Linked DNA regions of Homo sapiens: all the other regions are linked to region 6. The links are contacts of gene promoters, found by promoter capture Hi-C in blood cells and fetal thymus (Javierre and others, 2016). All regions are on one chromosome and are shown on one strand. Each heading gives the region's core, a stretch centred on a gene start or on the middle of the fragment in contact. The rest is flanking DNA. Distances are from core to core; before and after follow the strand shown.

Region 1 (2,700 bases), core at 2-2,501, 370 kb after region 6:
CACCAACACAGCCGCTACACACCAACAGACCATCTGTCTGCTAGACCAAAAACATCTCTTTCCATGTACAAACTAACCAGTGACATTTATTAAACGTACAACACTGAGATCATCCTGTCGTTCCCACATACCGTTCAACGCGGCAGGGACACCACAGACCTTGTCACACAGGTAAAATCCCCTCTCAAGATCGTGTCCTCGACCACTCTTATCCCTTAATTAAACACACACAAACTGGACTATGGGGGAGGCTCCGATCATGCCTACAAACACAAACTAACCTGTCAGGGGCACAGCCGACTCCGCCTCCACTCGCTTACTTCCCAGCCCCCTCCGGGAGTCTGCCTGTCAGGGACACCCCTTCACCCCGCCTGGAGGGACTTCCCGGTAGGCTCAGGATCCCCCTCCCTGCTCTCCCCTCCCCCATCTTCACCACTGCTCTCCCAGAGGTCCAGGTCCGGGAGATGACAGTGGCTCCCAGAAAGCCCAGGATTCAATCGCTGAGAGAGTGCTTAGGCCCGAATGCCGGCCCAAATCGTTCTACTCACCGTGTCGGAGGCCGAGAGCGATGAGAGTACAGGGAAGTGAGGAAGAGGGGGTGGCCGCCAGGCTCCTCCGCTTCCCTGGGTCCACCGCGGATCCCTCCCGCTTGTCAGGAGGCGGCCAGCGGGTAAGCCGACTGGCGGAAATGCGAGAGAGGAGAAGGGAAAGGTGGAGGGCTAAAGGGGCAAACTGAGAGGAGGCGGATCCCGCAACCGACACTGGGATCGTTTCCCCTCGCAAAGCGAACCCAAAATGGCGGCGGCAGCGGCGGCAGCAGAGTGGCCGCGGCAGCTCCTCCAGAGGGAGGGAGCTAAGGGCGCCTAGCGACACCCCCAACCTCCCACTCCTCCCTCCTCGCGTTCTTCCCCACGGTCCCCCGCTTCGCCCGACTCCGGCCATGTAGCGCGCACGTCAGCCCGCACGCGTACGAGTGTCTACGGGCTCGTCGCTGGCTGCTCCCACCAACCACCACCTTCGGCCGTCCTGCGAGCCAGCCATCCCGTACGCGCTCACCCACGGGAACCTCCTCGCCCAGTTCTCCACTCCCCCTCAGACCCTGTCAAGCCGGCTCCAGCGCAGGCCCTCACGCGTACCTTCAGCGGCGCGAGCCCAAGCCTTCTCCACCTCCTCTTCTCTCCTCCCCCTCCCTCCCCGCCCGCACGGCCACCAACCGCCGCCAAAGCAGCCGCCGCCAGCACCCCCACCCTACACTCCTCGCGCGTGCGCCTCCCACAGTCCCCACCGCGGGACTGTTCCATTCCTGGCGGCTGCAGGGGCAGGAGAGGAAGGGACCGGCAAAGCGAGTCTGGCTTGCCGTTTGACTGGAATTGCCAGGGTGGCCGGCCGAGTCCCATGACAACCTACCTCCCTGGGTTCGTCGCCGCGGCGCTGCGGCTCGCCTCCTCCTCCATGGGACCGCGGCGAGGGGATCGAGGGCGGCCTAGCGCCCCTCTGCCGGCCGGTGGTTGGAGGCCGCGGCGGCTGCGCGTTGAGTCGTTTCCTGCCGGATGACCCGACCCTTTTTTGCAGTCTCAGGACGGGCGCTTTGGAGCCGGCCCCAGGCAGCGTGTGTCGGTCGCCTAGTCTGGAGAACTAGTCCTCGACTCACGGTGAGGGAATGGACCGACACGGGTATTGTACCGCTGAGGGAAAGGAGCGGGACTCCGGACCTCCAGGAGGTAGGGAGTGAGGCCGGTAGACCGGCGCGCCTCCGGGGGGGATTCCTCCCGGGCGTTGAGTTGCCAACCTGGGACCCGAGGAAGTTCGGCGTGGTGGTGTGCTTTTTGTTGTTGTTAACCCTCCTCGGATTTCTCGAATTTCACACCACTGTCCATATGCGATGATGTTTGTTTGCCCTTGACGCACTTACTCATGGATGGTACTTCAGCCTCGTTAGACAGCCTGGTGATGGAGGATGAAGAAACCATGTGCTTCTCATTCAGTTCTGGACTCAGTTTCCCTTGTCTTCAGCAAGTTATTTTTGTTAGTTCCTTATCAAAAAGTGTACATAAAAATTAGGCAACTCCAAACATGCCTCCAGGGTTGGTGTGTGAAATAATAAGATAGGGCTGGGCGCGGTGGCTCACGCCTGTAATCCCAGCACTTTGGGAGGCCGAGGCAGGTGGATGACAAGGTGAAGAGATCGAGACAATCCTGGCCAACATGGTGAAACCCCGTCTCTACTAAAAATACAAATATTAGCCGGCCGTGGTGGCGGGCGCCTGTAGCCCCAGCTACTCGGGAGGCTGAGGCAGGAGAATTGCTTGAACCCGGGCGGCGGAAGTTGCAGTGAGCCGAGATCGCGCCACTGCACTCCAGCCTGGCGACAAAGCGAGACTCCGTCACACACACACACACACACACGAAATAATAATATATGTAAAGTGGAATTAGCTCCTAGGCATAGGGAAGGTGCAGAGTATTGCCGTGTTGTCATTTACAGTTCTGTTGATGTCGATAACGTTTGTGGGTGTAATGGGTAGTGTTCTGTCCCTCCAAGTCGTTAATAAAACAAAGCAGGCCGGGCGTCTTGTTAAATAGTTGTATCAATGACTTGATTTAGATTAATGAGGATATATTTTTCAAATTTATGCCTTTTACAAAATTTTTAAAGAGTAGGTAATGTCGGTGATAGATATAAAGAAAGGAAAAGATCTC
Region 2 (2,700 bases), core at 89-2,588, 400 kb after region 6:
AAACATTTAGTCATGTGTGGTAGCTGCTTCGGAGGCTGAGGCAGGAGGATGGCTTGAGCCCAGGAGTTCAGGCTGCAGTGAGCTACGATAGTGCCACGGCACTCCAACTCAGACAACAGAGTGAGACCCTGTCTCCAAAAAACAATTTTAATTAAAAAAAATTTTGTTGAAGAAATCATCTGCAGTGGCACTTTAAACTGTTCCAAGACATACACAGTACAATGTTTATTCAGCTTCAGAGCTGTGAGGTTCTATCTTTAATTAACTATTTGAAGTTGTTTTCAGACTGGCTTAACCAACAATGCTCTGTAAGAACTTACAGGTTCTTTTCATAATTTTCATTTACATGAAGGCCTACTTCCTCACCATTGTTTGTGGATATTAGCATTGTCATACTGCCTAATATGACTTTTTTTTTTTTAAATACTGCTCCTTTTGGAGCAGACCTAACTCACGGACAGTGTGCCCAGGGTAGCTGACTTTATTTTATTACTATTATTTTAATTATAGAGACAGGGTCTCACTCTGACAACCAGGCTGGAGTACAGTGGCGTGACCACAGCCCACAGCACACTCTACATCTCTGACCTCCTGGGCTCAAGCGATCCTCCTGTATTGGCATCTCAAAGTGCTGGGATTACAGGTGTGAGCCACAGCTCCCAGCCCTGATGTGACTTTTTTTTGAAATGGAGTTTCACTTTTGTCGCCCAGGCTGGAATGCAGTGATGCGATCTCAGCTCACTGCAACCTACGCCTCCTGGGTTCAAGTGATTCTCCTGCCTCAGCCTCCCAAAGAGCTGGGATTACAGGTGCTCGCCACCACGCCTGGCTAATTTTTATATTTTTAGTAGACATGGGGATTTGCCATATTGGCCAGGCTGGTCTCCAACTCCTAACCTCAGGTGATCCACCTGTCTTGGCCTCCCAAAGTGCTGGGATTACAGGGATGAGCCACCACGCCCAGCCAACATTTGTTTTAATACCTTTATCATGTTTTTTTGAACATTGAGCCTTCCATTAAGTTTGGAATTGCCTGTCAAATCCTACACCAATTCAATTGTTTTGTTAGGATTTCTTTTAAAAATATCAACACTGGCTGGGTACAATGGCTCACGCCTGTAATTCCAGCACTTTGGGAAGCTGAGGTGGGCAGATTACTTAAGGCCAGGAGTTCAAGATGAGCCTGGCCAACATGGTGAAACTCCATCTCTACTAAAAATACAAAAATTAGCTGGGCGTGGTGGCACACGCCTGTAGTCACAGCTACTTGTGAGGCTGAAGCAGGAGAATCGCTTGAACCCGGGAGGCGGAGGTTGCAGTGAGCTGAGATCGTGTCACTGCACTCCAGCCTGTGCGACAGAGCGAGACTCTGTCTCAAAAAAAAAAAAAAAAAATTAACACTATTTTAGTTATACTTACAAACAGTATTTGTTAGATATTCTTATTAGTAGACATATTTTAATATTTTCTTTGCAAATCAGTTTCACACACATTAGTACTTCCCAAATTTCCCACCAAAGTATTCTGGTAGCAAAAGGGGAATTAAACTCTGAAAGGTTAGTATGCTGGAGGTATGAGGTATGGATGGCCTTAGAGTTGTGAGGCAGCTGGTCACACCTGCTCCTGAGCCGCCATGTATTTAGTTCTAGAGAAAAAAGTCTAAATGGTTAAAGTAATAAAAATAAATTTTAGGCCAGGTGCGGTGGCTCACGCCTATAATCCCAGCACCTTGGGAGGCTGAGACGGGTGGATCATGAGGTCAGGAGTTCGAGACCAGCCTGACCAACATGGTGAAAGCCTGTCTCTACTAAAATTACAAAAATCAGCCTGGCATGGTGGTGGCACCTGTAATCCCAGCTACTGAGGAGACTGAGGCAGAAGAATTGCTTGAACCCCGGAGGCGGAGGTTGCAGTGAGCCGAGATCACACCACTGCACTCTAGCCTGGGTGACAGAGTGAGACTCTGTCTCAAAAAAAGAAAAAAAAAAAAAATCAACTAAAAATAAATTTTAGGCCAGGTGCAGTGGCTCACGCCTGTAATCCCTGCACTTTGGGAGGCCAAGACGGGGGTGTCACCTGAGGTCGGGAGTTTGAGACCAGCCTGACCAACATGGAGAAACTCCTTCTGTACTAAAAATACAAAATAGCCGGGCATGGTGGTGGGTGCCTGTAATCCCAGCTACTCGGGAGGCTGAGGCAGGAGAATCACTTGAACTGGGAGGCAGAGGTTGTGGTGAGCCGAGATCGTGCCATTGCACTCCAGCCTGGGCAACAAGAGTGAAACTCCGTCTCAAAAAAAAAAAAAGAAAAAAAATTTAAAGAGTTAATGTTTATTGAATTATTAACTTGTGTCAGAAATTTTAAGCATTTTTCTATATGCTTTCCATATTTACAGTGGCCCTAAGTGGTATACATAATTTTGTTATGAGATATATCAATTATTTATAGATTTCAGCTGAGATAGAATATATGCTTCAGTAATAGGAATAATCAAAAGCTGACTATCATGTTACTTAGTGCGGAATAATGTATTTCAGTTTTTAGCTAAGTTATATGGATAGATTTTCAAACTCAGTACCAACCCAGCTTCTCCTAACTGAGTAAATTAGAGGCATGCAATCTGATGGTCTTGGTTGCCACTTTAGGCAGAGTATATATACCACCCCCCACCCACTCCTTCCACACCCACCCACTCTTTCC
Region 3 (2,700 bases), core at 181-2,680, 380 kb after region 6:
CTTATTAAATTATTAGATCTTGTGAGATGTATTCACTGTCACATGAACGGTATGGGGAAACCGCCCCCATGATTCAATTATCTACCATGGGGTCCCTCCTACAACACATGGGAATTATGGGAGCTGAAATTCAAGATGAGATTTGGGTGAGGACACAGCCAAACCAAATCAGCTTGACAAGTTTTTTCTTAAGACAGGGTCTTGCTCTGTCGCCCAGACTGGAGTGCAGTGGCATGAACTTGGCTCACGGCAACCTCTGCCTCCCGGGCTCAAGCAATTCTCCTGCCTCAGCCTCCTGAGTATCTGGGACTACAGGCGCCCGCCACCACACCCAGCTAATTTTTTGTATTTTTAGTAGAGATGGGGTTTCACCGTGTTAGCCAGGATGGTCTCGATCTTCTGACCTCGTGATCCACCCACGTTGGCATCCCAGAGTGCTGGGATTACAGGTGTGAGCCACTGCGCCTGACCTAGACTTTTTTAACTTGAAAACTAGTGAGGGCCAGGCATAGTGGCTCGCGCCTGCAATCTCAGCACTTTGCGAGGCTAGGGCAGGAAGATTACTTGAGGCCAGGAGTTAGAGATCAGCCCAGGCAACATAGCCAGACCCCATCTCTGTAAAAATAAAAAATTAGCCACCAGGTGGTTGCACATGCCTGTAGTCCCAGTTACTTAGGAGGCTGAGAAAGGAGGATTACTTGATCCTAGGAGTTAGGGGCTGCAGTGAGCCTAGATTGTGCCACTGCACTCCAGCCTGGGCAACAGACTGAGACCCGATCTCACAAAATAATCAAGTAGTGAGGAAATACTGAAGAATTTTAAGCAAGGCTTCAGTGGAGAAAATGTTTAAGTCTGGATGCTGGTAGATCATTTATTTTAATTTGGGTTCAAGATGATAGTGTCCTAGAACGGAAGCTGATTACACGTTCTGACCGTCATTTCTCATAGTGTCTATAACATAGGCAAAATAATAGCTCCAGTGTCCACAGGCACGCCTATGGAAAGAAGTGCATCTGGACCATGTCACACACTCCTTCCTCTCCAGTACCCAGCCTGCTTCCTAGTCCACAGCTCTTCCAGTAGTGGTTGTGCCGGGGAGCATTGAGAAGATCTGGGGAGCACAGTGGGGCAGGTCAAATACTATTGGAGTGACATTGCACTCTAGAAAAGGAGCCCTGAAATCCCACAAGTGAAAAGGCAGGCAGGCCAGTAGAGACCATCCCAGTCTTATTCACCACTATAGACTCTGTGTAGTGTGGGCGTGTGGAAGCATGTCATATGCTTCTTGAATGACTGAGTTTAGGAGTGCTTTGGCGTCTTCATTAAATAGTATGGCTGGGCAGGTGGCTTATGCTTGTAATCCCAATACTTTGGGGGGCTGAGGCGGGAGGATCACTTAAGGTCAAAATTTTGAGAACAGCCTAGCCAACATGGCGAAACCCTGTATCTACTAAAAATACAAAAATAAGCTGGCGTGGTGGCGGGCGCCTGTAGTCCCAGGTACTTGGGAGGCTGAGGCAGGAGAACTGTTTGAACTCGGGAAGTGGATGTTGCAGTGAGCCGAGATCATGCCACTGCACTCCAGCCTGGGCGACAGAGCAATATTCCATCTCAGAAATAAACAAACGAATCCAGTATATTTAAGGCCAAGTGCGATGGCTCATACCTGTAATCCCAGCACTTCGAGAGGCTGAGGTGGGAGGATCACTTGAGTCCAGGAGTTCAAGACCATCGCTGGCAACATAATGAGACTCTGTCTCTACAAAATAAAAAAGCCAGGCACAGTGGCACGTGCCTGTAATTCCAGCTACTTGGGAGGCTGAGGTGGGAAGATCACTTAAGCAGGGGAGTTCGAGGCTGCAGTGAGCTGTGATTGTGCCACTGTATTCCAGCTTGGATGACAGAGCAAGACCCTGTCTCAAGAAAAATAACAAATGTGATAAAGTTGAAGCAGAGCATGGTGGCTCACACCTGTAATCCCAGCACTTTGGGAGGCTGAGGCAGGAGGATCACTTGAGCCCAGGAGTTCAAGACCATCCTGGGCACCATAGCAAGGGTTATGTCTACCCAAAAAAAAAAAAATTTTTTTTTTAATATGCCAGGCAATGGCACCTATATTCCCAGCTACTTGAAAGGCTGAGGCAGGCGGATCACTTGAACCCAAGAGTTTGAGGCTACAGTGTGCTGTGATCTTGCCATTGCACCCCATCCTGGGCAATGGAGCGAGACCCTGTCTCAAAAAAAAAAAGAAAGAAAAAAAAAACAGAAAGGAAATAAAATGAAAGGAATTTATGTTATTCTCTCTCTCTTTTTATTTATTTTTAAATATTATTTATTTATTTATTTATTTTTTGAGATGGAGTCTTGCTCTGTCACCCAGGCTGGCATGCAATGGCGCAATCTCAGCTCACTGCAACCTCTGCCTCCTGGGTTCAAGCGATTCTCCCGCCTCAGCCTCCTGAGTAGCTGGGAAAACAGACATGCACCACCATGCCAGGCTTATTTTTTATATTTTAGTAGAGATAGGGTTTCACCATATTGTCCAGGCTGGTCTTGAACTCCTGAGCTCAGGCAGTCCATCCATCTCGGCCTCCCAAAATACTAGGATCACAGGTATGAACCACTGCACCTGGCCTCTTTTCATTTATTTATCTATTTATTTAGACCAGATCTGAGTGTATCATGCAGGCTGGAGTACAG
Region 4 (2,700 bases), core at 1-2,500, 440 kb after region 6:
AAACAAATAAACAAAGAAAATACCTTATCATGATTTTGGACCCCGATCTCTTTTTTCCTCTTGTTCTTTGAGGCTGTGGGTATCTTGGGAGGCTCCTCCTCTTCTTCCACATCAGGCAGGGCCACTTCTTCAAAGCCATCAAACTGAGAAGGAGTTGGTGCTGCTGAGCACAGACACCAGGCCAATATCCCTCCCACGTGTGGCCTTCCCCCTTCATAAGGCTACAGCAGCCTTAGGTCCTATACCTCATACTCCTTTTCCTCAGTCCAATTGATCTCTTCAAAGTCACCCATCCGGCTAGCTGCTGGGCGCAAGTGGTCAAAGAAGATAGAAAACTCATCCTGCAGGTGGTCGTGGCCCTTGAGGAGCTGCCACATCTGTGTCTTGAGCTGAGGAGAGTCACAGAGGGAAAGAGGAAGTCTCCAGAGCCTCTCTAGGCTGCCCTTCCCAATCAATCCCACATACTTCCATGTTCTGCTTTCCCAGTCAACTGGGAAACACACAGAGACTCTGCCTGGTAACAAAGAATACTAAAACTTTCTCTTCCTCCTTAGCTGCCTATAGGGGAAGGGTACTAATACTGGATTTGATTCCTAATGATTCCACTCTCCACTCCACCCTACTGATCTCCAGCTAGGGCACTATTCCAAGCAGAGCAAGGAGGTAAGGCCCCTCCCAGGTCCCAGAACCTCCTTCGCTGAACATCCCTTCCAGCACATCCATGGCATTCCTGAGCCTGTGAAGATCAGACAGGCTCCGGTTTCAGGTAGCAATCCCTCCCTATCCCAGTGCTTTATGCTTTGGGTGAGCCTGAAAAGTCCTTGCCTTTTTCATCTCCTCCAGGAAGCCCATGAGCCTCCAGAGGCAAAAAGGTATGGAGTAGGTTGGGGAAAGAGACAAGGGAAAGGCCTAAGGCCCGGAAGACAACAGGAAGAAAGCAGGACAGGAAAGAATACCTCGGTGATCTCCTGGGGAAGGCAGTCTGCACAGCCTTGGAGGACCTTGATAATCTTCTGGTGGTGTGAGGGGTTCTCTGCAAAGCAAATCTCCAGCTGCCGAAGGAACTTGCGGCTCTTCTCAAAAGCCTGCTGCTCCTCAAACTACCAGAGTGGAAAGTGGGCAAAAGAGGAGTCATGATACAGCTAGAGCAGGACTTGAGGGTTCTAAGGATAAGAACTAGTGGACTAGGACACAAGAGATGACAGAACCCTGGTTTAAAATTCTAGTTTACAACTATTGAGATCTAATTTAAAACCCTAACCTCCATCCACCTTGGGCCACTGGTGGGTAGCCACCCAAAGCAATTAAGATGTGAGCAACAGCTTCAAGAGATGTATATATTTCAAGTTGTTTGCTGTTTTAAGGATTGTGAAATCAGCCACCAAAATTCATATGATACTTTAGAGTTTATATTACAAAGAACTTTCAGGCTGCACAAGGTGGCTCATAGCTGTAATCCCATGTTGGGAGGCCAAGGCAGGAGGATCGCTTAAGGCCAGGAGTTCAAGAACAGCAACATACTGAGACTATGTCTCTACAAAAAAATTTAAAAATTAGGCAGGGGCCGTGGTGTACACCTGTAGCTTGAGCTACTTGGGAGGCTGAGGCAGGAGGATCCCAGGGGCCTGTGTTGTCCAGGCTCATCTCAAACTCCTGTCTACAGGCCAGCTGTGGTGGCTGATGCCTGTAATCCCAGCACTTCGGGAAGCCGAGGTAGGCAAATCACCTGAGGTCAAGAGTTCGAGACCAGCCTGACCAACATGGTGAAACCCCATCTCTACTAAAAATACATAAATTAGATAGGTGCGGTCATGCATGCCTGTAATCCCTGCTACCCGGAAGGCTGAGGCAGGAGAATCACTTGAACCTGGGAGGCAGAGGTTGCAGTAAGCAGAGATCACACCACTGCACTCCAGCCTGGGTGACAGAGTCAGACTTTGCCTCAAAAAACAACAACAATAAAACAACAACAACAAAACTCCTGGCTACAAGGGATCCTCCCACCTTAGCCTCCCAAAGTGCTGGGATTACAGATGCCAGCCACTGTGTCTGGCCATTGTCTCTCTCTTTTTTGTTTTTGAGACAAGGTCTTGCTCTTGTCACCCAAACTGGAGTGTAGTGGAGCAATCATGGCTGAGTGAAGCCTCAACCTCTCAGGCTCAAGTGGTCCTCCCACCTCAGCCACCCAAATAGCTGGGACCAAAGGTGTGCACCACCACACCCAGTTAGTTAATTTTTTTATTTTATGTAAAGATGGGGTCTTGCTATGTTGTCCAGGCTGGCCTCCCAAAGTGCTGGGATAACAGGTGTGAGCCACCATACCTGGCTGACATTATCTCTTTAAAAAAATTTTTTGGCCAAGTGTGGTGGCTCACACCTGTAATCCCAGCAATTTGGGAGGTCGAGGTGGGCAGATCACCTGAGGTCTGGAGTTCGAGACCAGCCTGACCAACATGGAGAAACCCCGTCTTTACTAAAAATACAAAATTAGCCAGGCGTGGTGGTGGCGCATGCCTGTAATCCCGGCTACTCGGGAGGCTGAGGCAGGAAAATCGCTTGAACCCAGGAGGCGGAGGTTGCAGTGAGCCGAGATCACGCCACTGCACTCCAGCCTGGGCAACAAGAGTGAAACTCCATCTCAAAAAAAAAAAAATTTTTTTTTTTGTTCACGTATACACTGATTGGAACCTCATAATACCA
Region 5 (2,700 bases), core at 25-2,524, 500 kb after region 6:
GCGAGACTCTGTCTCAAAAATAAATAAATAAATAAATAAAATCCATCACTCAACTAGTTACAGTAACAGAAAATAAAATTTAAATAGAAACTTAAAGGCCAGGTGCAGTCAGTGTCTTATGCCTGTAATCCCAGCACTTTGGAAGGCCGAGGCGGGTGGATCACTTGAGGTCAGAAGTCCGAGACCAGCCTGGCCAACATGGCGAAACCCCATCTCTACTAAAAATACAAAAATTAGCCAGGCATGGTAGCGCACGCCTGTTAATTCCAGCTACTCAGGAGGCTGAGGCAGGAGACTTGCCTGAACCCGGGAGATGGAGATGGCAGTGAGCCAACATCGCACACTGCACTCCATGGGCAACAGAGGAGACTCAAAAAAAAAATCCTAAAGGTGGGGACAGGGATCAGATCACTATCCTAATCTGCATTACAAAGTGTAAGGCCTTGGTCTAAAATCCTTTTACAAAACAATTCAAAGAACACATTAAGAAACAAGTCAAAGAACATATTAACACAGCAATGAAAGGGAACGAAGTATAGCTAAAACCAATAGTATAAATGAATCTCAAAAGCTTAATGTTGAATTTTAAAAAGCTAGGAACAAAACATATAAACATGGGTCCATTTATATAAAGTTCAAAACAGTAACAATTGAACTACAGTGTGTAGAGATACATATTGAGGTGATACAACTATAAAGAAAAGCAAAGAAATAATTACTAAAAGGCAGGGTAGTGGTTATTTTTAGGGGGAGGGAGGTGATTGTGACTGGGGAGGGTATACAGGGGTTGTCCTAGTAATGATATATTTCTTGACTTTGCTATGAGTTTCATGAGGATTTGCATTATAATAACCAAAGCTATACATTTTTATTCTATGCACGTTTCTATGCTGTATTTCATAATACAACAAATTCTAAAATTAAGGGAGTATAAAGGGCAGAAAAACAGCTTAAAGCACAGAAATGAGCTGAAAAAAGAACCATGTCTCAATCCTCTCTACAAGTGACATTACTAAGGAAGCAAAGTATACCCTGCTCTATTAAGACAAATATTACCAACTAACATTCACTGACCTCTTCAGCAGTTTCATCTTCTTCTTCATCATCCGGCTGGTATTCTTCATCTGAGGAATCATCTTCTTCAAGGTGGATATCCACAAACTGAGGAGGCTACATTAGTACAATTAGAAAGAAATGAAGTAATGGGAAACACAAATCATACGTATTTGGAAAATAAGGGGAAGAAGCAGGGCAGAAAAAAAAAAAATCCTAAGAGCATAATGTACAGCTAAAGCAAATAACACGAGGCAGAGGTTAAAGTGAATTCCATGAGATACAAACCTAAGAGTAATAGAATGGAAAAAAACAAAGCTGGAATTAAAACAAAGATTGATCAAGAAAAGTTAAAGAGGAAGTACTTAAGTTTCAAAACCGATGAAGTCTTTCTGGAAAAGAATAACAATTATTTCTTCCAAGTTTACCTTAATTTCATTGGCCTTCTTAATTGGTGAAATATTCCATGTTGGAATTACCTACCAACAAAGAATATAAATAATTAAGTTATCTTAACTGAAATAATTGTTTTTCATGTTTACTTCCTCTGTACCATCACTAACAGCCATATACTTAACAAGTAACTGCAGTGATCTAGAGGTGTTGATTATCCCTGAGGGTATACTCTCAATTATTTGTCAGAGTTAGAAAGAAGAAACCAGGAAAGAATCTATTACTGTCATTAGCATTTCTGCCTTACACCTGGTAAGCCTCACTTCTTTCTATAAATGAAGAAAACAATGTCTACCTTGTTCATATCACAGCTGCGGTTTACATGGAACAACAGATGTGACAACTATTTATAAACTATTAAACTACACAAACCTAAGATATTTTGGTTACAGTAGTCTTTTAACAGCAATATATTTTTGTAATCAGTTACATGAATCCACCATAAGTACAACTCCAAAAAGCCAGCCATGAAAAGCTTTTATGGACTATTCTGCCTATGGGGTAGCCCTGCTCTGCCTATGGGCTTTTTTTTTTCTTAAAAAAAAAAAAAAAAAAAAAAGCTTTTACCAGGGCATTTAGGGCAAAGTTTCATGTTGTCCACACTTATTTTTCCAATAGTACAGGAAAAAACAACACAGAGAGATATAAAGCAAATATGGCAAAATATTACTCTTGGAATTTAGATTCATTGTAACAATCTTTCAACTTTTTGAATGTTTGAAAATTTTTATAAGAGCTAGGGGGAAAGTTTTTCTTGTTTTTGTTTTTGTTTTGAGACAGGATCTTGCCCTGTTGCCTAGGCTAGAGCAGCAGCACAATCAGAGCTCACTGCAGCCTCAAATTCCTGAGCTCAAGCGATCCTCCTGCCTCAGCCTACTAATTAGCTAGGACTACAGGCATGCCTCCTCACCAGGCCTCACTAATTTTTTAAATTTTTTGTAGAGATGGAGTCTCATTAGGTTTCCCAGGCTGGTCTCAAAATCCTGGGCTCAAACAATCCTCCCACCTTAGCCTCTCAAAGCACTGGGATTATAGGTGTGAGCCACCACATCTAGCCTAAAGAACTTTTTTAAAGTTCTTATATACTGCTGATAAAATGCCATTGAGGATGTATAATTTCTTGACCATTTAATTGTAACCCAACCAAAAGCACCTTATGAACAAAAGCCAACTGGCCATTAGGTTCTGTCTCTA
Region 6 (2,700 bases), core at 193-2,692:
TGGACCATCAGTCAGGACTGTCTAGGTCAGGGAAGCCAAGATGTCTGAAGAGAGAGGAAAGATTTGGGGCTGCAGTAGGGCAAGACCCCATGGGAGGAAGCAGCCAGGAAGATGCCGGCACCCCTGGGGTTTGGCTTATTAACCCCCCTTTCCCTGCAGGCAGGAATTGATGGCGAGAAGGAGCACGCCAATGCCAAGAAGATCCTGCTGGAGATGGGGGAGTTCTTTCAGATTCAGGTAAGAAGGCAGGAGGCAGTAGCAGAGAACAGGCACCAGCTTCACTCCTCCTCTGCCCAGGAACCTCATCCTTCCTCTTTTGCTGCCCTCCCCCTCCCTGCCCAGGATGATTACCTTGACCTCTTTGGGGACCCCAGTGTGACCGGCAAAATTGGCACTGACATCCAGGACAACAAATGCAGCTGGCTGGTGGTTCAGTGTCTGCAACGGGCCACTCCAGAACAGTACCAGATCCTGAAGGTGCCTGAGAGAGGGTGGTGGGTCCCTGAGTTGGTGGAAAGGGATAGAGCAGTGGTTCTCAACTAGAGGCAGTTTTCCTCCCGAGGGGACATTTGGCAATGTCAGCAGACATTTTTTGCCATTGTCATTACAACTCTGTGTGTGTGCATGTGGTACAGACATCTAGTTGGCAGGAGCCAAAGATGTTGCCAAACATGTAGTACACAGAACAGCTCCCCCAGACAGGATTATCTGGTCCCAAATTTCAATAGTGCCAAGGTGGAGAAACCCTGGAGTAGAGGATGCCTGGTATGAGGCAATATTTGGGATAGGGAAGGGAAGCTTGGGATTTTAGCTACGTAGAGACACTTGAAAATTGGAGGGAGGAAAGGAGTGGGTGGCTTTGGAGATGTTCTGGAATATGTGAATGAGGGGAGTGGAGGGGTCCTGGAGGCTCTGGGGAAGGCCAAGCCCGTTTTCCTGTCTTTCAACCTCTTCCAGGAAAATTACGGGCAGAAGGAGGCTGAGAAAGTGGCCCGGGTGAAGGCGCTATATGAGGAGCTGGATCTGCCAGCAGTGTTCTTGCAATATGAGGAAGACAGTTACAGCCACATTATGGCTCTCATTGAACAGTACGCAGCACCCCTGCCCCCAGCCGTCTTTCTGGGGCTTGCGCGCAAAATCTACAAGCGGAGAAAGTGACCTAGAGATTGCAAGGGCGGGGAGAGGAGGCTCTCAATAAATAATCGTGTAACCTTCTTGTGGTTCTGTTCTTGCTCGGCCCAGCCAGAGTCTGGCTCTTTCCAGAATGTGCAGGGTGGGGTGCTGGGAGGACTCGCTGCACGGAACCAGGACCCAGGGGCCAAAAGCTTAGGATATATCAAACCCTCTAGGTGGGTGACAAAAGACGCTAAACGCTGGGGGCGGGTCTGAGCTACGCCACGCCCATGCGCGAAGGGGTGCAGCTGCGCAGCGCAGGGTAGGTTGTGCTAGTGCCCCTCCCCTCCCGCTCTGTGCCCCGCCGGGCGGGGACCGTGGGAGCCGCGGACAAGCCCAAGGCCGGAGCGGTTCCAGGAGGACCCTGGTGAGGAGGGCTCGGCCCATGGGTGTAGACCGATGGACCTGGGCACGAGGGGCGGGGCAGGACAAGGGAGCAGGAGAAATGAATAGAGAAAGGGTGCGGTGGTGGCTGAACGATGGAGACGAATGCGGAGAGAATGGACATACCGCTGTTCCGAGGGGCGAGGGCGCAGGCTGGAGCCCGGCCGAGGCAGCCAGCAGATGCGGAGTTGACAAGCTGACGGCTGCTCCATCCTTTTCCTCTCCAGCCCCCACCCCTTTCCTGCATTCACCAGACAAACTCTGCGTATTGCCCCACCCCCATCCTCCACCTCCTTTCAGGGCATCTGGGTGGGTCTCCCTGGGTCCCTTCCTCTGGGAGTAAGGGGTAGGCTGGAGGGCAGGGCCAGATTGCGGCAGCAGGGACCTGGAGGTCCATTCTGGGCCCGGACCTCTTCCAGGCCCCCGCCCCCCTTCGGAGATCCAGAGCGCAGCCGCGTTCTCTGACCCTCCCGGCTCCATTCCCGGGGGGTTACATTCGACTCCATCTGCAAACACTGCAGTGGAAACTAATGGTCAGTCGATTGCGATTTGCATCTCATTGAAATATCTTCCAAAGCAGCCAGAGCCTTCAGGCCTGCTGCTGCCGTCAAGTCACCTCGGTGTCCTTCCCCGCAGCTCTTGTCCTCACTGGCCGGGCTTCACCACCTCTGTCTTCTAGGTCTGCACCTGTGGTTGCCAGGTAGGTGGATGTGAGAGACCCTACCCTTCTGGTTCTCTAGAAGCCATCCCATCGCCGCTAGCATCATGCTGTCCCCTCAGAGAGCTTTACTCTGCAACCTCAACCACATCCACCTCCAGCACGTCTCCCTGGGCCTGCACTTGTCCCGCCGTCCTGAGCTACAGGAGGGGCCTTTGAGCACACCCCCTCCTCCAGGAGACACTGGGGGCAAGGAGAGCAGGGGCCCCTGCAGTGGCACCCTGGTGGACGCCAATTCCAACAGCCCAGCTGTGCCCTGCCGGTGCTGCCAGGAGCACGGTCCGGGCCTAGAAAACCGGCAGGACCCGTCACAGGAGGAAGAGGGGGCTGCCTCTCCCTCAGACCCAGGCTGCTCCTCCTCACTCAGCTCCTGCTCAGATCTTAGCCCCGATGAGTCCCCTGTCTCAGTCTACTTGCGGGACCTC
Region 7 (2,700 bases), core at 3-2,502, 460 kb after region 6:
CAAGGCAGGTGGATCACTTTAGGTCAGTGGTTCGAGACTAGCCTGGCTAACATGGCGAAACCCTGTCTCTATGAAAAAATACGAAAATTAGCTGGCCGTGGTGATGCGTGCCTGTAATCCCAGCTACTTGGGAGGCTGAGGCAGGAGAATCACTTGAACCCGGGAGGCAGAGGTTGCAGTGAGCCGAGATCGCGCCACTGCACTCCAGCCTGGGCGATAGAGCAAGACTCCATTTCAAAAAAATAAAATAAAATAAATAAATAAATAAAATAAATTCCTCTTCTAAGGTTCCTAACCCTAACTTCCCACCCCTACCCTCCTGAGAGACTGTTTCCAGGGCTGAAGCAAAAACTGAAAAACCCAGCATGACAGTTCTGAAGTAAAAGGAGAAAAAGATACTTAAGTGATTAAGCACGTGCTGATACCCTATGCAATCAGGATAAGACCTGCTGATGTAGTTACAACAAGCAGGTTATCATATTTCAAGTAATCTCCAATATTACAGCAATAGATAAATAAGTGTTTTCAATAGTTAATTTTTAAAAGTTATCATTTATCTATTGGGGATAAAAATCATTCTTTCTTTTATAGTATTTACTGTGGGTTTGGGCAGCACAGGGTAAAAACCTAAAGCCTGTGGGACTGTCTTATGCAATCTTCTGAGAACTGAAAACCTGATCACCTGCACTACTACCACTGAAGGAACAGAAGACCAGAAGCATAAAAAAGTAGGTAATGAAAACATAGCCTGCACGTAGTTGTATTTTTTATTATTATTATTATTATTACTATTATTTTTTTTTGAGATGGAGTTTCGTTCCTATTGCCCAGGCTGGAGTGCAATGGAGTGGTCTCGGCTCACTGCAACCTCTGCCTCCCAGGTTCAAGCAATTCTCCTTCCTCAGCCTCCCAAGTAGCGGGGATTACAGGCACCTGCCAACACGTCCGACTAATTTTTTTTGCATTTTTAGTAGAGACAAGGTTTCGCCATGTTGGCCAAGCTGGTCTCGAACTCCTGACCTCAGGTGATATGCCTGCTTCGGCATCCCAAAGTGCTGGGATTACAGGTGCCAGCCACCACGCCTGATCTATAATTATTATTATTATTATTATTATTATTTTTTGAGATGGAGTCTTTTTCTCTCTCTCAGGATGGAGTGCAGTGGCATGATCTTGGCTCATTGCAACTTCTGCGTCCTGGGTTCAAGCGATTCTCCTGCCTCAGCCTCCTGAGTAGCTGGGATTACAGGCGAGTGCTACCATGCCTGGCTAATTTTTTTATTTTTAGTAGAGACGGGGTTTCACCATGTTGGTCAGGCTGGTCTCAAACTCCTGACCTTGTGATCCGCCTGCCTTGGCCTCCCAAAATGCTGGGATTACTGGCGTGAGCCACCGCACCCGGCCTATTATTATTTTTTGAGAGACAGTTTCACTCTGTTGCCCAGGCTGGAGTACAGTGGCACAATCTCAGCTCAGTGCAACCTCCGCCTCCAGGGTTCAAGTGTTTCTCCTGCCTCAGCCTCCCAAGTAGCTGGGATTACAGGCGTGTGCCACCACACCCAGCTAATTTTTGTATTTTTAGTAGAGATGGGGTTTCACCATGTTGACCAGGCTGGTCTGAACTCCTGACCTAAAGTGATCTGCCTGCCTTAGCCTCCCAAAGTGCTGAGATTACAGGTGTGAGTCACCACACGTGGCCTTGCACCTAGTTTTAATAAGTATTACTTGGATAACTGACAAGGGAAGCACAGATAACTCACTTTCCCAGGGTTTTTGTTTTGTTCTTTTTTTTCCTCTCTCTTCTTTATTGTGTTTTAAGAAGTTTTTACTATCTATGGACTTACAGAATCCAGGATGCTTTATTTAGTCAAAGATTATAACAGGTTTGCATTTGCAACTGAAAGAGAAGCAGCAGCTGCCCAAGTACAGTCATGTGCCACATAATGTTTCAGTCAATAATGAACCACATATTCAGAGATGGCTCCATAAGATTACTGTACCTTTTCTATGTTTACATACATATGTACTTACCATTGTGTTACAACTGCCTACAATATTCAGCAGAATAACATGCTATACAGGTTTGTGGCCTGGGAGCAATATGTTATACCGTATAGCCTAGGTATGCAGTAGGCTAAACCATCTAGGTTTATCCAAGTGCTTTCTACACAATGATGAAATCGTTTAATGATAACATTTCACAGAATGTATCACCATGAGATGATATATGACTGTATTCTACTGAATACCAGAAGGTAACTGAATTCTAACAAGAGTTTTAAATTATTTCTATACTTTACAAATTTTATTTATTTTATTTTATTTTATTTTTTTGAGACAGAGTCTCTCTCTGTCAAGCAGGCTGTCATCTCAGCTCACTGCAACCTCCGCTTTCCGGGTTCAAGTGAGTATCCTGCCTCAGCCTCCTGAGTAGCTGGGATTACACACACCCGCCACCATGCCTGGCTAATTTTTGTATTTTTAGTAGAGATGGGGTTTCACCATGTTGGCCAGGCTGGTCTCGACTCCTAACCTGAGGTGATCCCCCTGCCTCCGCCTCCCAAAGTGCAGGGATTACAGGCATGAGCCACTGCGCCCAGCCTACACTTCCCAAATTTTAAGAAGTTACAAAGAGTCAATCAGCAGAACCAAAACACGTTTATAGATCAAATCCCATTATATGTTCCCAGGATGAATGGT

The links. The method cuts DNA at HindIII sites, captures the fragments that hold promoters and counts their contacts. A CHiCAGO score of 5 or more calls a contact.
Region 1: the fragment with the promoter of YY1AP1 here is called in contact with the fragment with the promoter of RUSC1 in region 6 in 10 of 17 cell types (M1 macrophages, naive B cells, M0 macrophages and 7 more); the score reaches 8.4 in M1 macrophages.
Region 2: a contact is called between a fragment that was not itself captured here and the fragment with the promoter of RUSC1 in region 6, in 2 of 17 cell types (M2 macrophages and M0 macrophages). The highest score is 8.0, in M2 macrophages.
Region 3: a fragment that was not itself captured here is called in contact with the fragment with the promoter of RUSC1 in region 6 in 2 of 17 cell types (M2 macrophages and endothelial precursors); the score reaches 5.9 in M2 macrophages.
Region 4: a fragment that was not itself captured here is called in contact with the fragment with the promoter of RUSC1 in region 6 in 3 of 17 cell types (M2 macrophages, monocytes and M1 macrophages); the score reaches 6.9 in M2 macrophages.
Region 5: a contact is called between a fragment that was not itself captured here and the fragment with the promoter of RUSC1 in region 6, in 4 of 17 cell types (M1 macrophages, M0 macrophages, M2 macrophages and 1 more). The highest score is 12.0, in M1 macrophages.
Region 7: a fragment that was not itself captured here is called in contact with the fragment with the promoter of RUSC1 in region 6 in 1 of 17 cell types (M2 macrophages); the score reaches 7.8 in M2 macrophages.

Annotation. Positions count from the first base shown.
Region 1 is chr1:155,687,523-155,690,222 of GRCh38, forward strand. YY1AP1 (YY1 associated protein 1) reads right to left here and starts at 1,252. Exons shown (of 11, transcript NM_139119.3): 1 at 1,137-1,252; 2 at 549-679. It overlaps DAP3 (death associated protein 3), which reads left to right and starts at 1,569. Exons shown (of 13, transcript NM_004632.4): 1 at 1,569-1,652. It also overlaps the pseudogene LOC124904430. RefSeq lists enhancers at 658-1,292, 1,668-1,717 and a silencer at 1,128-1,177. The HindIII fragment of the contact is 12,603 bases long and covers 1-2,700 here.
Region 2 is chr1:155,722,663-155,725,362 of GRCh38, forward strand. All of the region lies in intron 4 of DAP3 (death associated protein 3), which reads left to right. Among named protein-coding and RNA genes, the nearest start is that of DAP3, 35 kb to the left of the region's middle. The HindIII fragment of the contact is 2,795 bases long and covers 1-2,700 here.
Region 3 is chr1:155,703,366-155,706,065 of GRCh38, forward strand. All of the region lies in intron 1 of DAP3 (death associated protein 3), which reads left to right. Among named protein-coding and RNA genes, the nearest start is that of DAP3, 16 kb to the left of the region's middle. The HindIII fragment of the contact is 5,985 bases long and covers 1-2,700 here.
Region 4 is chr1:155,756,935-155,759,634 of GRCh38, forward strand. GON4L (gon-4 like) reads right to left here. Exons shown (of 32, transcript NM_001282860.2): 25 at 957-1,100; 26 at 246-389; 27 at 24-143. Among named protein-coding and RNA genes, the nearest start is that of DAP3, 69 kb to the left of the region's middle. The HindIII fragment of the contact is 8,033 bases long and covers 1-2,700 here.
Region 5 is chr1:155,814,731-155,817,430 of GRCh38, forward strand. It overlaps GON4L (gon-4 like), which reads right to left. Exons shown (of 32, transcript NM_001282860.2): 7 at 1,482-1,532; 8 at 1,075-1,170. Among named protein-coding and RNA genes, the nearest start is that of GON4L, 41 kb to the right of the region's middle. The HindIII fragment of the contact is 1,410 bases long and covers 570-1,979 here.
Region 6 is chr1:155,319,452-155,322,151 of GRCh38, forward strand. RUSC1 (RUN and SH3 domain containing 1) reads left to right here and starts at 1,443. Exons shown (of 10, transcript NM_001105203.2): 1 at 1,443-1,540; 2 at 2,237-2,700. The coding sequence starts at 2,323. It overlaps FDPS (farnesyl diphosphate synthase), which reads left to right. Exons shown (of 11, transcript NM_002004.4): 9 at 160-237; 10 at 343-477; 11 at 958-1,214. The coding sequence ends at 1,158. It overlaps RUSC1-AS1 (RUSC1 antisense RNA 1), which reads right to left. Exons shown (of 6, transcript NR_145424.1): 3 at 2,174-2,244; 4 at 352-481. RefSeq lists a silencer at 1,385-1,534 and an enhancer at 2,150-2,700. The HindIII fragment of the contact is 14,544 bases long and covers 1,324-2,700 here.
Region 7 is chr1:155,780,357-155,783,056 of GRCh38, forward strand. All of the region lies in intron 14 of GON4L (gon-4 like), which reads right to left. Among named protein-coding and RNA genes, the nearest start is that of GON4L, 76 kb to the right of the region's middle. The HindIII fragment of the contact is 9,234 bases long and covers 1-2,700 here.